Linked DNA regions of Homo sapiens: all the other regions are linked to region 1. The links are contacts of gene promoters, found by promoter capture Hi-C in human tissues and cell types (Jung and others, 2019). All regions are on one chromosome and are shown on one strand. Each heading gives the region's core, a stretch centred on a gene start or on the middle of the fragment in contact. The rest is flanking DNA. Distances are from core to core; before and after follow the strand shown. Region 1 holds the start of LRRC14B (leucine rich repeat containing 14B). Region 2 has its middle 14 kb from the start of PLEKHG4B. Region 3 overlaps PLEKHG4B (pleckstrin homology and RhoGEF domain containing G4B).

Region 1 (3,601 bases), core at 722-3,221:
AAACGCCCCACCAGGACCCACTGCCATGTGCCCCCAGCCCCCAGAACCCACCGCCAGGCACCCCCCAGCACCTGAGGACCCACCTCTAGGTGCTTCCCCAGTACCTACCAGGCACCCCTTCCCCCTAGACCCACTGCCAGGTCCCACCCCCAGGACCCAAAACTGGGTGCCCCCCGGACCCACCGCTAGGTTGCCCCACCAGGACCCATCACCCGGTGACCCCAATACCCACCGCCAGCTGCCCCTCCTTCAGGACCCACCACCAGGCTCCCTCCCAGCACCCATTGCCAGGCACCCCGTTCCCCAGGACCCATCACTGGGCACCCCCCTTGGACCCACCGCTAGGCACTCCCCCTCCAGGATCCACTGCTGGGCACCCCCCTTGGACCCACCGCCGGGCATCCCCCTCACCACTGCCTGAGGCTGCCTTGGCCTGGCCCCTTCCTAGCTGCTGCCCTCTCTGCCTCCTTCACGCAGATCTGCTGAGAGGATCCTGCATAAGCCTCCTGTCCCACCATGGGGAGGTCCATGCAGCATGGAGCCCAGGCCTCCCTCGAGGGAGACTGGGAGGATCCCGCCCTGTCAGGCCTTCGGATGAGATGGCACCCTTGGCCAACAGCAGCCCTGAGCCAAAGGCACCGACAGGCTCAGATTTCTGAGCTGAAATCGTGTTTGCTGTTTGAAGCCCCCAAGTGTTGGGGTGAGTCGTTCATCAACAATAGACAACTCCTCACACCACGTAGGCACTTCTGTTTCGTCTGTTTGGTAATTTCCGTATTCTCTTTTTTTAACTGGCATTCTCTCCACATCCCTAAGTCACACATGGCAGCCCGCTTCTTTCCTGGTGGCTCTGACTTTCGGTGCTCTTGCCCCTTGGCGGGGCCGCTGTCCTGTGGCTGTGGCCACACCCGGAGTGAGAGGCTGGAGGCCGTGTAGCCTCATGGCCTTGGACATGAGCAGGCCCCTGGACGATCTCTCCTTGCCTCTGCAGCCACCAGCCCGCCCTCAGTCCCCTCCCCAAGACTCACCCAAGCAGCGTCGGGATCTTCCCGGTCAGCGTGGAGAAGGCCACACTGAGCTCAGTGAGCTGCGCCATCTTGCTGAGCTCCCGGGCGATGGAGGCGAGGAGGGGGTCCTCGCCGTCGGGAGTGGAGGCGTAGGTGGGGGGTGCATCAAAGGCCTTGGTGGGCAGGGTGAGCGAGGCCAGCCGGGGGAAGCCCACCTGGGCCAGAAGCTGCTGCACGTGGCCCGCATGCAGCCGCACGTTGTGCACCACCTCCAGCTTGCGCAGGGCACCCGGGCCAGCCAGACGCAGCACGTGCAGGAGCTGGCTGGGGCTCAGGCTGTCCGCCCGGAACGAGGGGCAGTGCACCCGCAGAGGGGCCGGGCCCGCTGGCCTCAGAGCCTGCACCACCGCCTCGAAGTTGCCCTCAGTGACGAAGAGGTCGGCGAGGACCTCGACGGGGCGCCCGGCTGCGAGGGGCTCTGCCTGCAGCTCACAGCAGGTCCTGGCCAGCAGCTGGGTGCGGCCCCACCTGCCCAGCGCCCTCCCGCACGGGCACCGCTGCACCTGCACATCTCGGATGCCCGTGAGGTCAGCCACCCGCAGCCGCCGGCGGCTCCGGTCCTGCAGCACGTGGTCCGCGAGGCCGCGCACCAGCGCCTCCAGGCAGGCCCTGCAGGTTCTGTCGCGCAGGTCCTGGGGGTGGTCGGCACCAGGACCCAGCAGCGCTCCCAGCCGGAACTCCTCCAGGGGCCAGCGCCCCAGCACCGCGCGCGTCACCTCCGCCTGCTCCAGCAGGTAGCTGGCTTTGAACAGGAGTGGGTAGAGGTTGTGGGCCACGCTGTCCAGGCTCTGCCGGGCCACCTGGGGGTGGGACACCAGAGCTTCTGCAGAAATGAAGCGGAGTGACCTCATTGTGTCCATGGCCCGAGACAGGACCGCTCCCCACGACTTTCCCCAAGGCGTGTGCCCTTCACGCCTATCTTTAGCTGCAGCAGCTGTGAGCAGCCTGCCCTGGGGGCCCTGCCACGGGGCCTTATGATCATCTGACTGCTATTTTGGTCCTGGGACACCTGCGTCTGCCCGGCCTCGGGGCACGCAGCCGTTGGGAGCTGCTTGGCTCAGGCACCCAGCCGTTGGGAGCTGCTTGGCTCAGGCACCCAGCCGTTGGGAGCTGCTTGGCTCAGGCACCCAGCCGACACAGAAAGGCAGCCCGTGCCCATGGCAGGGCTGGGCAGAGAAGCCTGTGCTCCATGCTGCAGAAAGCCAGTCTTGGCAGGCGTTCGTGCTGGCGGCCGGTGAGGCCAGCGGGCAGGTCCTGTTTACCATCCAAGCGGGGCTACTGCCCAGCTCTGGGCACCTCCCCCACCAGTCAACGGGGCAGAGAACAGGCCAGGCCCCTGCGCCTCACTCGGTAACCAGTTCCCTTTCCACAGTGGCCTCTGGGGCCGCTCCCACACTTCGCCTCGCATCTGGGGTGAGACGAGTGGCCAGGAATGGAGCTGCTGTTTTGCCCCTTCCCTGTGCCTTTCCTTCTCCCCAAGGACCCGGCGGGGGTGGCTTCCCTACTTTCCATGGGAGAGAGTGGCTGGGAGAGGTGGAGCCTCCCTGATGGCCTCGGATGAGCCCCCAGCTCTCTCTGAGCTGCAGTGTCCTGTCTGCAACCCTGCCGCCTGTGCGGCAGGGAAAGCTGCAGGGAATGGGATACACCTGTGTTGGGGGGCGGTGCCTGATGGTTCACTCCCAGCACTGACCGTGTTGGACAGCTGATGGGTGCTGCACTCACCTCTCCCCGTGACACTGCCACTCAGGGCAGGGTCAGCACACATCGCTGCACACATCACTGCACACATCACTACAGGGCACCACGTGTCCATGGGCTTTGGAGGGTCACGGCCATGAGACAGAGGCTGAGGGAGACTGAGAGAAGTGAGTGACGGAGACTGAGACAGAGACAGAGGGACAGAAACTAAGAGGGAGAGAGACAGAGACTGAGGGAGAGAGAAAGGGAAACAGAAAGAGACAGACTGAGAGAGAGACAGAAAGGGAGAGACAGAGACTAAGAGAGAGAGAGAGAGACTGGTAGGCAGAGACAGAGACTGAGAAAGACAGACAGACGGGGAGACAGAAAGAGAAACAGCAGTGGGAGGGGGAAGGCTGCTGAGCAAGCTTGGAGGGTGCTGGTCATGGGTGCCCCACCAGCCTCCCTGTCTGACCCTCCCCAGTTTGTTCCCTGAGCCTGAGCAATGCCTCTCCCCGGGAGGCGACCCATGCAGAAGGGACTGTGCTCCGTTGTGGGGCCCAGGCACTGTCCAGCAGGCGGAGGTGTGTGTGAAGAGGTGGGTGGGCCCTGACCCCACCCTTCAGGGGTGGCCGCCCTCGGCCAGCCGATGTGGGCCCCCGGGCTCCCCTCATGAGGTGCACAAGAGGTTTCCCCAGACACACGGCCCCTTTCCAGGACCAGATAAGAGAATCTCGAAGGACACAGTAGAAAAACATGTTCCATTGGTTTTTATGATTAAAATTTTTAACAATTCAGTATTGATACAAAGTAAACACTTAACAACAGTGGCAGGTAACGCCATTTCCCAGACACCT
Region 2 (3,601 bases), core at 598-3,097, 110 kb after region 1:
ATCAACACCTGATCGATACATAAATTATTGAGCTATTTTGCACTTTCATGCTGATCTTGGAAGCGTTGTCTGTCCATTACACTCCCGGTACATCTCACCATAGAGCGGCCACACTGCTCAGCAGACTCATCCTAGATGCTGCAGGCTGACAGCTCGTCCACTGCCTTCAGCCCAGAAGGCAGGAGCCACAGAGGGGCCCTCAGAAGGATCTAGACACTGGGCAAAGAACACACACGGTGCACAGCATTACGGGAGAGATGGTCACCCGGAAACCAGGGCTCTCCCTCCCCTTAATCCTGCTCAGCACGGCTCCCTGCCCACCCCTGTGGGCACACCTGAGACTACAAGGGCCTGCTGTTCTCTTGTTGGGGTGGCAGGACCCCGGGTTTGCTGCTGGTCTTGGTCATAGGCTGCTGCATTTCCTTCTTTCTTTACTAACCCGAGGCCAGTCCATCCAGGTTTACCCTCACTCTTTTCACACCTAATCCACACTCTCCTCTCTGCCATAAACCATCTCATCTTCATTATTTGGATGGACCAATCTTTTGATACATTAGGCATCTCCTACACTGTCATCTTTTAAAAAATGGCATGTATTCAACACCTAACTGCAACCCCCTGTAACCTATTCCAGATATACTAGGAAAAATTGCACCCAAAACTTTAGAACTGCTTTAGAATATAAATTCAATCCCTAATTAATGCAAGTCATGGAGGAGAAGAGAGGTGCTGAGCAGGCAGACGTGAGGCAGGGCCTCCACACTGGCGTTTGAGTTGGGAACCCTGATTCCTAACAGGAACCTGCTGGGACTGGCATCACAGCTTTGCCACCTTTTGCCCTGTAAGAAATGGTGATCAGCAGAGGAGGGTCAAGGAGGGCAGCCTAAGGAGGGCAGCTAGGGGTAAAGCAGTCAGCGCAAGGCAGCCTGGAGATGGCATCTTTTCAGCCCCCACGCACCCCCTAGTGGGCAGCACCCAAGGCTGCTGGCTTCACACAAAGCCCCAAGCATTGGCCTCCTCCAGGGTGAACAGAGCCACCTCGAGGCAGCCCTAGATGCAGAGGGACAGGATGCCAATTCCCGGCACAGGTGAGGTGGGCCCACTCACAGAACCTGAGGGCAGCCAACAGGACAAGAGGAAATGGGTTGGCAGAGGAGGCTCCCAGGCCACCCGAGCTGCCGTGGAAGATGTGCCTGGAGTTTCCCGATCTGATGCGTCTTACACAAGCAAGACTCTGCCAAGAGACCAGAGACGCACAGATGTTCTCCTTCTTCCTCCCTTAGGTTGGAGGGGCTTCTCTGAGGCGCCCAGAGTTGGGGGGCCTGGCCGACGACACCAGGGACTCTGTCCCCACTTCAGGCTGCATAATGGTGGTGGTGGCAGGGAGGCACTTGGAGCCTCCCGGGGAGGGGCCTCCTGCCTCCATGGGGCCATGGGAGGCTTGGCAGTTTCCGCCTCTTTGCCTCTGGACAAAAGTGCCTGGACCCAGCCTGGAATCAGCCTTTAGAAAACCCATGACAGGGGTGAGAAACCCCTGTGGTGTTCTGGGAATGTCAGGCATTTTTAATAGAGCAATGGAAAGAAGTCCTGGGGCCAGCAGTCTCCACGCCCCCAGACACAGAGACACAGTGACGCAGATCCCAGCACCCCACAGCAACACAAATGAGACAGGAACGCTAATGTGTAATGCAAAACACCAGGTTAGATTTCTACTTTTGACCAAAAACATCTTTCTGGTCTACTGATAGTTAAATAGTAGACAAGCAAAGATTATTAACTAAAGTCACATTTAAGTACAGAACATTATTCTGCACTTTTGATGAACGGCTTTCAGATTTGGGAACTTCACGGCAAGGCAGCTGGGCAGCAACGGCGAGTTGTCCAGCCAGGCCTGCGGCCTCCCCTGCTGTCATGCGGCTGTGGGACGCAGGTCTCTCCTGTGGGAGGCCCAGGTGTGCCTCCTCCATGCCCTCTTCCCCTTTTCACCTGGACACAGAAGCCATGGCTCTGGGGAAGGCAGAGCCACAGGCGGGAAGAGACCTGGGTCTCTAAATGGCCCACAGGAAAGAGCCACCTGCAGGCCGCACACCTGCCACGACTGTGTGAACAAGAAATGAATAACTGTGTCATGCTATTACCTTAATTCATTGGCATTTTAATGCTGCTGAATCCACCACAAGTCACTCTAATGAACTTCCACCCTTCAGAGTAAAGCAAGTTATGCTGACACCTGTCTGTGTGCATCCTCCTTAAAGTTGGTCACTGGATTGCGGCCGCTTCCTTATGAACAAGAAGTTCCCTCAGTGTCTGTCCCCACTGGACAAAAAGGAAAAGTCCTCCTCGGACTCTCATCTTTCCTGCCTGCACAGCCTCATCCCAAGCCAGCCAGGGAGGTCTGCAGATGGCAGTTTCAAAGGGGCTGTTATTCTTTCCAGCTGTTACTGCTCCCCTGAGCCAGACCCAACCTGCTGGGGCCACACACTTCTGTCCGTAACACCAACAGCCTCTGACCCTCTCTCCTGCCCTCTTCCTCCCCTCTGCATCCCCAGGGGCTACGGTATGCTGGGACAGTGATGAATGGTCCTGGCCCTAATTAGATCAGCCCTGTCCCCTCTTGCCCAGGCACCTGCGGGAGGCTCTGCCAGTCAACTCACCCTGTAGCACATGAGGCTGACCTACCCAGCATCGTCATGCACATGGGGCATCCACTCCGGGTCACACAGGACGCTAAGCACAGGGGAACAGATACAGAAGGACGGTGTCGACTCTGCATCTGGGGCAACCCTCCACAGCTCCTCGCTACACCCCCAGTTAACTGGGGCTTTAAGACATTGCCCAGTGCATCCTCCATCCGCCACCTGTCCGTGTGGCGCCCTGCCACTTCTGGTGTAGGCTAATTCCCCCGCTGCCAGCAGGCTCTGCTGAGGAGACCTCCTGACCCCTGTCCCTCCTAGGCCTCCTCTCCCATGGAGTCTCCCAGCCAGCCCCCATCTCTTCCTCCTCCTCCTATTTCTGTCCCTAGCACAGAGGTTTCCACAGCAGCACTGGGTGCGATGCCTGCACCCAGGACAGAGGAGCTGCTCAATGGCTGAGTTCAGTGGGTCGCAGCCGATACTCGGAAAGCCAGCGGGGACCCCGTGTCTTCTGACTCACTGCCATGGCCGACGCCAGACCTCCTTACTCCCAGCAGCCCTCTGTGGTCAAACAGTAAGGGCAGGGCACCTTTTGGGGTGAGGACACCATTTAATCTCCACCCCTTTGATGAGAATGAAAACTCTTAAAAATACTGTTGAAGGCGGCATGGCAGAGAATGAAGCCTGGAGACTGCAGATGAGCGTGAGGGAGGTGAGCGGGTGGGCTCACACCCAGACCCGCCCCTGACCTCTACCTCTCAGCAGAGTTGGCTTTCAGGCTTTATCTTCAACTTCTGTTAATACTTAAGGTCCACATGCCGCAGCGTGAAACACACCTGTAATTATGGGAGGCCACCACTTACCTCAGGGTTTCTCCACTGGTTCTTGTTTGAATGAAAGCCACAAGAGCAGCAGAGAGCGTGGGTATGTTGTCAATGTTCCTGTGGGCTGAATACTCATTATACATC
Region 3 (3,601 bases), core at 795-3,294, 64 kb after region 1:
GGCAAAGACATACATCAATACATGTAAGGTATATACTGGATTCGCCCAGAAAGGCAGGACATCTCAAGTTTGGAGGGCAGGGGTGATGGACTCAGAATTTTTCTGATTGGCAGTTGGTTGGAAGAGGTAAGCTCTGCCTAAAGAACTGACGTCAGCAGAAAGAAACACTCCAGTTAAGATAAAGGGGGATAAAGCCAAGGTTCTTGTTCTGTAGATGAAGCTTCTAAGTAGCAGGCTTCAGTGAGAATGATGGCAAATGTCTCCTTTTGTACCTTAAAAGGTGTCAGACTCTTGGTTAAACCCCTCTCCTGGGTCAGGAGAAGACCTAGAAAGGGAAGGAGATTCTCTACAGAATGCAAATGTCCTCCACAAGAGACAATTTTGCAAGGCTGCTTCAGAATATGGCAAAGAAATCTATTTTGGAGTCAAATAATTTCATTTCCTCAGGGCCTGTTGTCATGTGACGCCACAGGTTCAGATTTGGTATCTTATTGCTACGGAATCTGTTTCGTCAGTCTTTTGGTCTCTATTTTAATACTAATGCTGGTCAGTTGTGCCTAAACTCCAAAGGCCTGTCCGACCCCTCCCTGTCACGGCCTGAACTCGTTCTTCCAGTTTCTTTGGGATCTCCTTGGCCAAGGGAGAGGGGGTCTGTTCAGTTGGTGGGGGACTTAGAATTTCATTTCTGGTTTACACCCTTTATGGTTATCCCAGTTGTGAGGAGGATTCTGGGAAGATGGTGGAGTAGGAGGCACCAGCAGTCTGTCTCCCCATCTGGACAACACCTGCACTGGCAGAATCTGTCTGCCATAACTATTTTGGAACTCTGGAGTCTACCAAAAGCATGAAGGGCAAATTGTGGTTGATTGTGGTCAATTTCAGCTCTTGGCCCCACTGGCAGCCCCACCTCCAGCCCCGCAGGCAGCTGTGCCTGTGTTCCTGGAGCGGCTTGCAAGAGCCAAAGTGGCCAAAAAACCCCAAGAAACAAAAAAGAAAACCCCTGTCATCCAAATACAGTGGATCAGTGCTGAGGACTAAGCTCTGATTTTTTTAATCTTGCCTAAATGCCTATCTGAGGGGTCTGGGGAGTTCATGCCCTACAAACCATAAATTCTCATCATGTGGTTTTTATTTAGCCATACAGATTGTGACTTTCCAATCTGACTCTGGCATAACATCATGTGACAAAGAAGAAAGTTAAAATATTTTACTGCAAAATACGTTTCTTTGCCATATTTTGAAATGGCCCTGCAAAGCTGTCCTTGGTGGGGGAAAATTTGTATCTGTAAAGACTCTCTATTAACATAGCTAGATCTTTTTCTTCCGGGCCCTCCCAGTCCTGAAGAGATTAACTAAAATCTAGTACCTTTTAAAGGTCTGAATAGGACACATTTGTCATCTATTGTCCCTAAGGGCAGCCACCATAAGATTCAAAAGAAACTTTGTCTCCACAATCTTTTATCTTTACCTGAACACTCCCTTTCTATTGACCCCAGGTCTTTAGAAGAACTCAACCAATTGTCAGCCAGAAAATGTTTAAATTCACCAAATCCCCTAGTTGTCCTGCCTTTCTGGACCAAACCAATGTATTTCTTAAATTTATTTGATTGATGTCTCAATATCCCTAAAATGTATAAAACCAAGCTGTACCCTGACCACCTCAGGCACATGTTCTCAGGACCTCCTGAGGGCTGTATCAGGGGCCATAGTCACTCATGTTTGGCTCAGAATAAATCCCTTCAAACATTTTACAGAGTTTGACTCTTTTCATTAACAGTGCTCTAATCACTGTGGCTGGTGACCACAGAGGTGCAGACAAAGAGGTGCAAGTTCAATATTGTTGCACCTTTCTCACTGTTCGGCCGCCACCTACCACTGCCACTGAAGTGACTTCCAGGGGATTTAAAGAGGTGATGCCCTTTTGCCACCCCTTTCATTTTTTTGTCTTTTCCCCTTTTGTGAGCCAGACATTAAACACTAGGACATTTTAAAAAAATGTATACAAGGAAAATTAGAAAATGACCATGTATGCTCAAAGAAAGGACCAGGCTCAGAAGGAACTGAAATGACCTTACGGTTACACCTCAGGCTGGGCCTTGGCACAGAGGCAGCCTATAATAATAATAATAATAATAATAATAATAATAATAATAAAAACCAACAATAAGCAGAAACAATGATATAGGAGTTAAGAAGAAATTAGGCAGATAGTGAGGGAAAGAAAGTCTGTAGTAACGTTTCCTTTTAATGAAAATCAGCCCCCAAATCATTTTCTTTTCTAACAAAGAGCAGCCTTTAAAATCGAGCTGCAGACATAGACAAGCAAGCTGGAAGCTCATACAGGTGAATGCTGGCAGTTGCGCCAATAAGAAAAGGCTACCTGGGACTAGGCATGTTCAAAATGGCAGCTCCGTCTTCCCTTCTTTTGCCAGCCACATGTATAGTAAGGAGCAGGCAAGATGGCGCTGGCCAAGTGGAAAGAACATTTGCATAAGATTAGGGTGGGGTGGCCAGCTTCCCCGACCCGCACACTATGTAAATGTCACACCTGGTCCAACCAATCTGTGGGCCCCATGTAAATGGAATACCACCTCCTCAAGCCTGCCTATAAAATCTGGTGCTCTCTGCCGCAGGCCAGATTTCCCTTTTGGGCACCCCTCTCTGTCTTGAGAGTAAGAGTTCTTCTCCTTTCTCTTTCTTTTGCCTATTAAACCTCCACTCCTAAACTCACTCCTCATGTGCGTCCATGTCCTTAATCTTCTTGGTGTGAGATGATGAACCCCGGGTATTTACCCCAGAAAACAGTGCCGCTTCAACAACATAAAAAGCAAACCCCAAGGGAGGGGGAAAGTCTGCTTTGCAGAGGTGTCACATAATTAGATTCAAATGTCCAATTTTCAACAAAATGTCATGAGGCCTTCAAACAAACAGGAAAGTATGTTCCATTCAATGGAAAAAATAATTAGAAACTGTCCCTGGAAAAGACTTGATAGTAGACCTACTAGGAAAAGACTTTAAAACAACAGTCTTAAAGATGCTCAAAAAACTAAAGAAAGATGTGAAGAAAATAAAGTGATGTATGAAAAAGTGAAAATATCAACAAAGATATTAAAAATCCTAAAAAGAAGCCAAACAAATTCTGGAGCTGAAAAGTATAATAACTGAAATGAAAAATTCACTAAAGGGGTTCAAAGGTGGATTTGAGCAGGCAGAAGAAAGAAAAGTGAACAAAGCCTAAAAGACCTGTGGGATACCATCGAGCAGCCAGCATATGTAAAATGGGAGTTCCAGAAGGAGAGTAAAAAGGCATAGAATATTTGAAGAAATAATGTGTGAAAACTTCCCAAATTTGAGGAAAGACATGAATACAAACATCCAAGAAGCCTGATAAGCTCCAAGTAAGAGGAAGTCAAAGAGACCCACACCAAAACACATTATAATCCAGCTTTTGAATGACAAAGACAAAGAATCCTGAAAGCAGCAAGATAGAAGTGACTCATCACATGCAACAACCTTAATAAGATTGTCGGCATATTTTGCATCAGAATCTTTCAAGTCCAGAAGGCAGTGGGACAAAACATTCAAAATGATAAAAGAAAAA

What was found. Contacts are between HindIII fragments. The study calls those that stand out against the background at their distance.
Region 2: a fragment that was not itself captured here is called in contact with the fragment with the promoter of LRRC14B in region 1 in 3 of the 25 tissues and cell types used here (H1 embryonic stem cells, mesendoderm cells and neural progenitor cells).
Region 3: a contact is called between a fragment that was not itself captured here and the fragment with the promoter of LRRC14B in region 1, in 2 of the 25 tissues and cell types used here (IMR-90 fibroblasts and aorta).

Annotation. Positions count from the first base shown.
Region 1 is chr5:189,865-193,465 of GRCh38, reverse strand. It overlaps LRRC14B (leucine rich repeat containing 14B), which reads right to left and starts at 1,971. Exons shown (of 2, transcript NM_001080478.3): 1 at 1,029-1,971. The coding sequence starts at 1,927. LOC124900929 (a long non-coding RNA gene) reads left to right here. Exons shown (of 2, transcript XR_007058670.1): 2 at 478-738. PLEKHG4B (pleckstrin homology and RhoGEF domain containing G4B) reads right to left here. Exons shown (of 20, transcript NM_052909.5): 20 at 3,500-3,601. RefSeq lists an enhancer at 2,257-2,306. The HindIII fragment of the contact is 15,773 bases long and covers 1-3,601 here.
Region 2 is chr5:76,106-79,706 of GRCh38, reverse strand. No RefSeq gene overlaps it. Among named protein-coding and RNA genes, the nearest start is that of PLEKHG4B, 14 kb to the left of the region's middle. RefSeq lists an enhancer at 1,557-2,456. The HindIII fragment of the contact is 3,709 bases long and covers 1-3,601 here.
Region 3 is chr5:125,894-129,494 of GRCh38, reverse strand. All of the region lies in intron 2 of PLEKHG4B (pleckstrin homology and RhoGEF domain containing G4B), which reads right to left. Among named protein-coding and RNA genes, the nearest start is that of PLEKHG4B, 36 kb to the right of the region's middle. The HindIII fragment of the contact is 6,287 bases long and covers 1-3,601 here.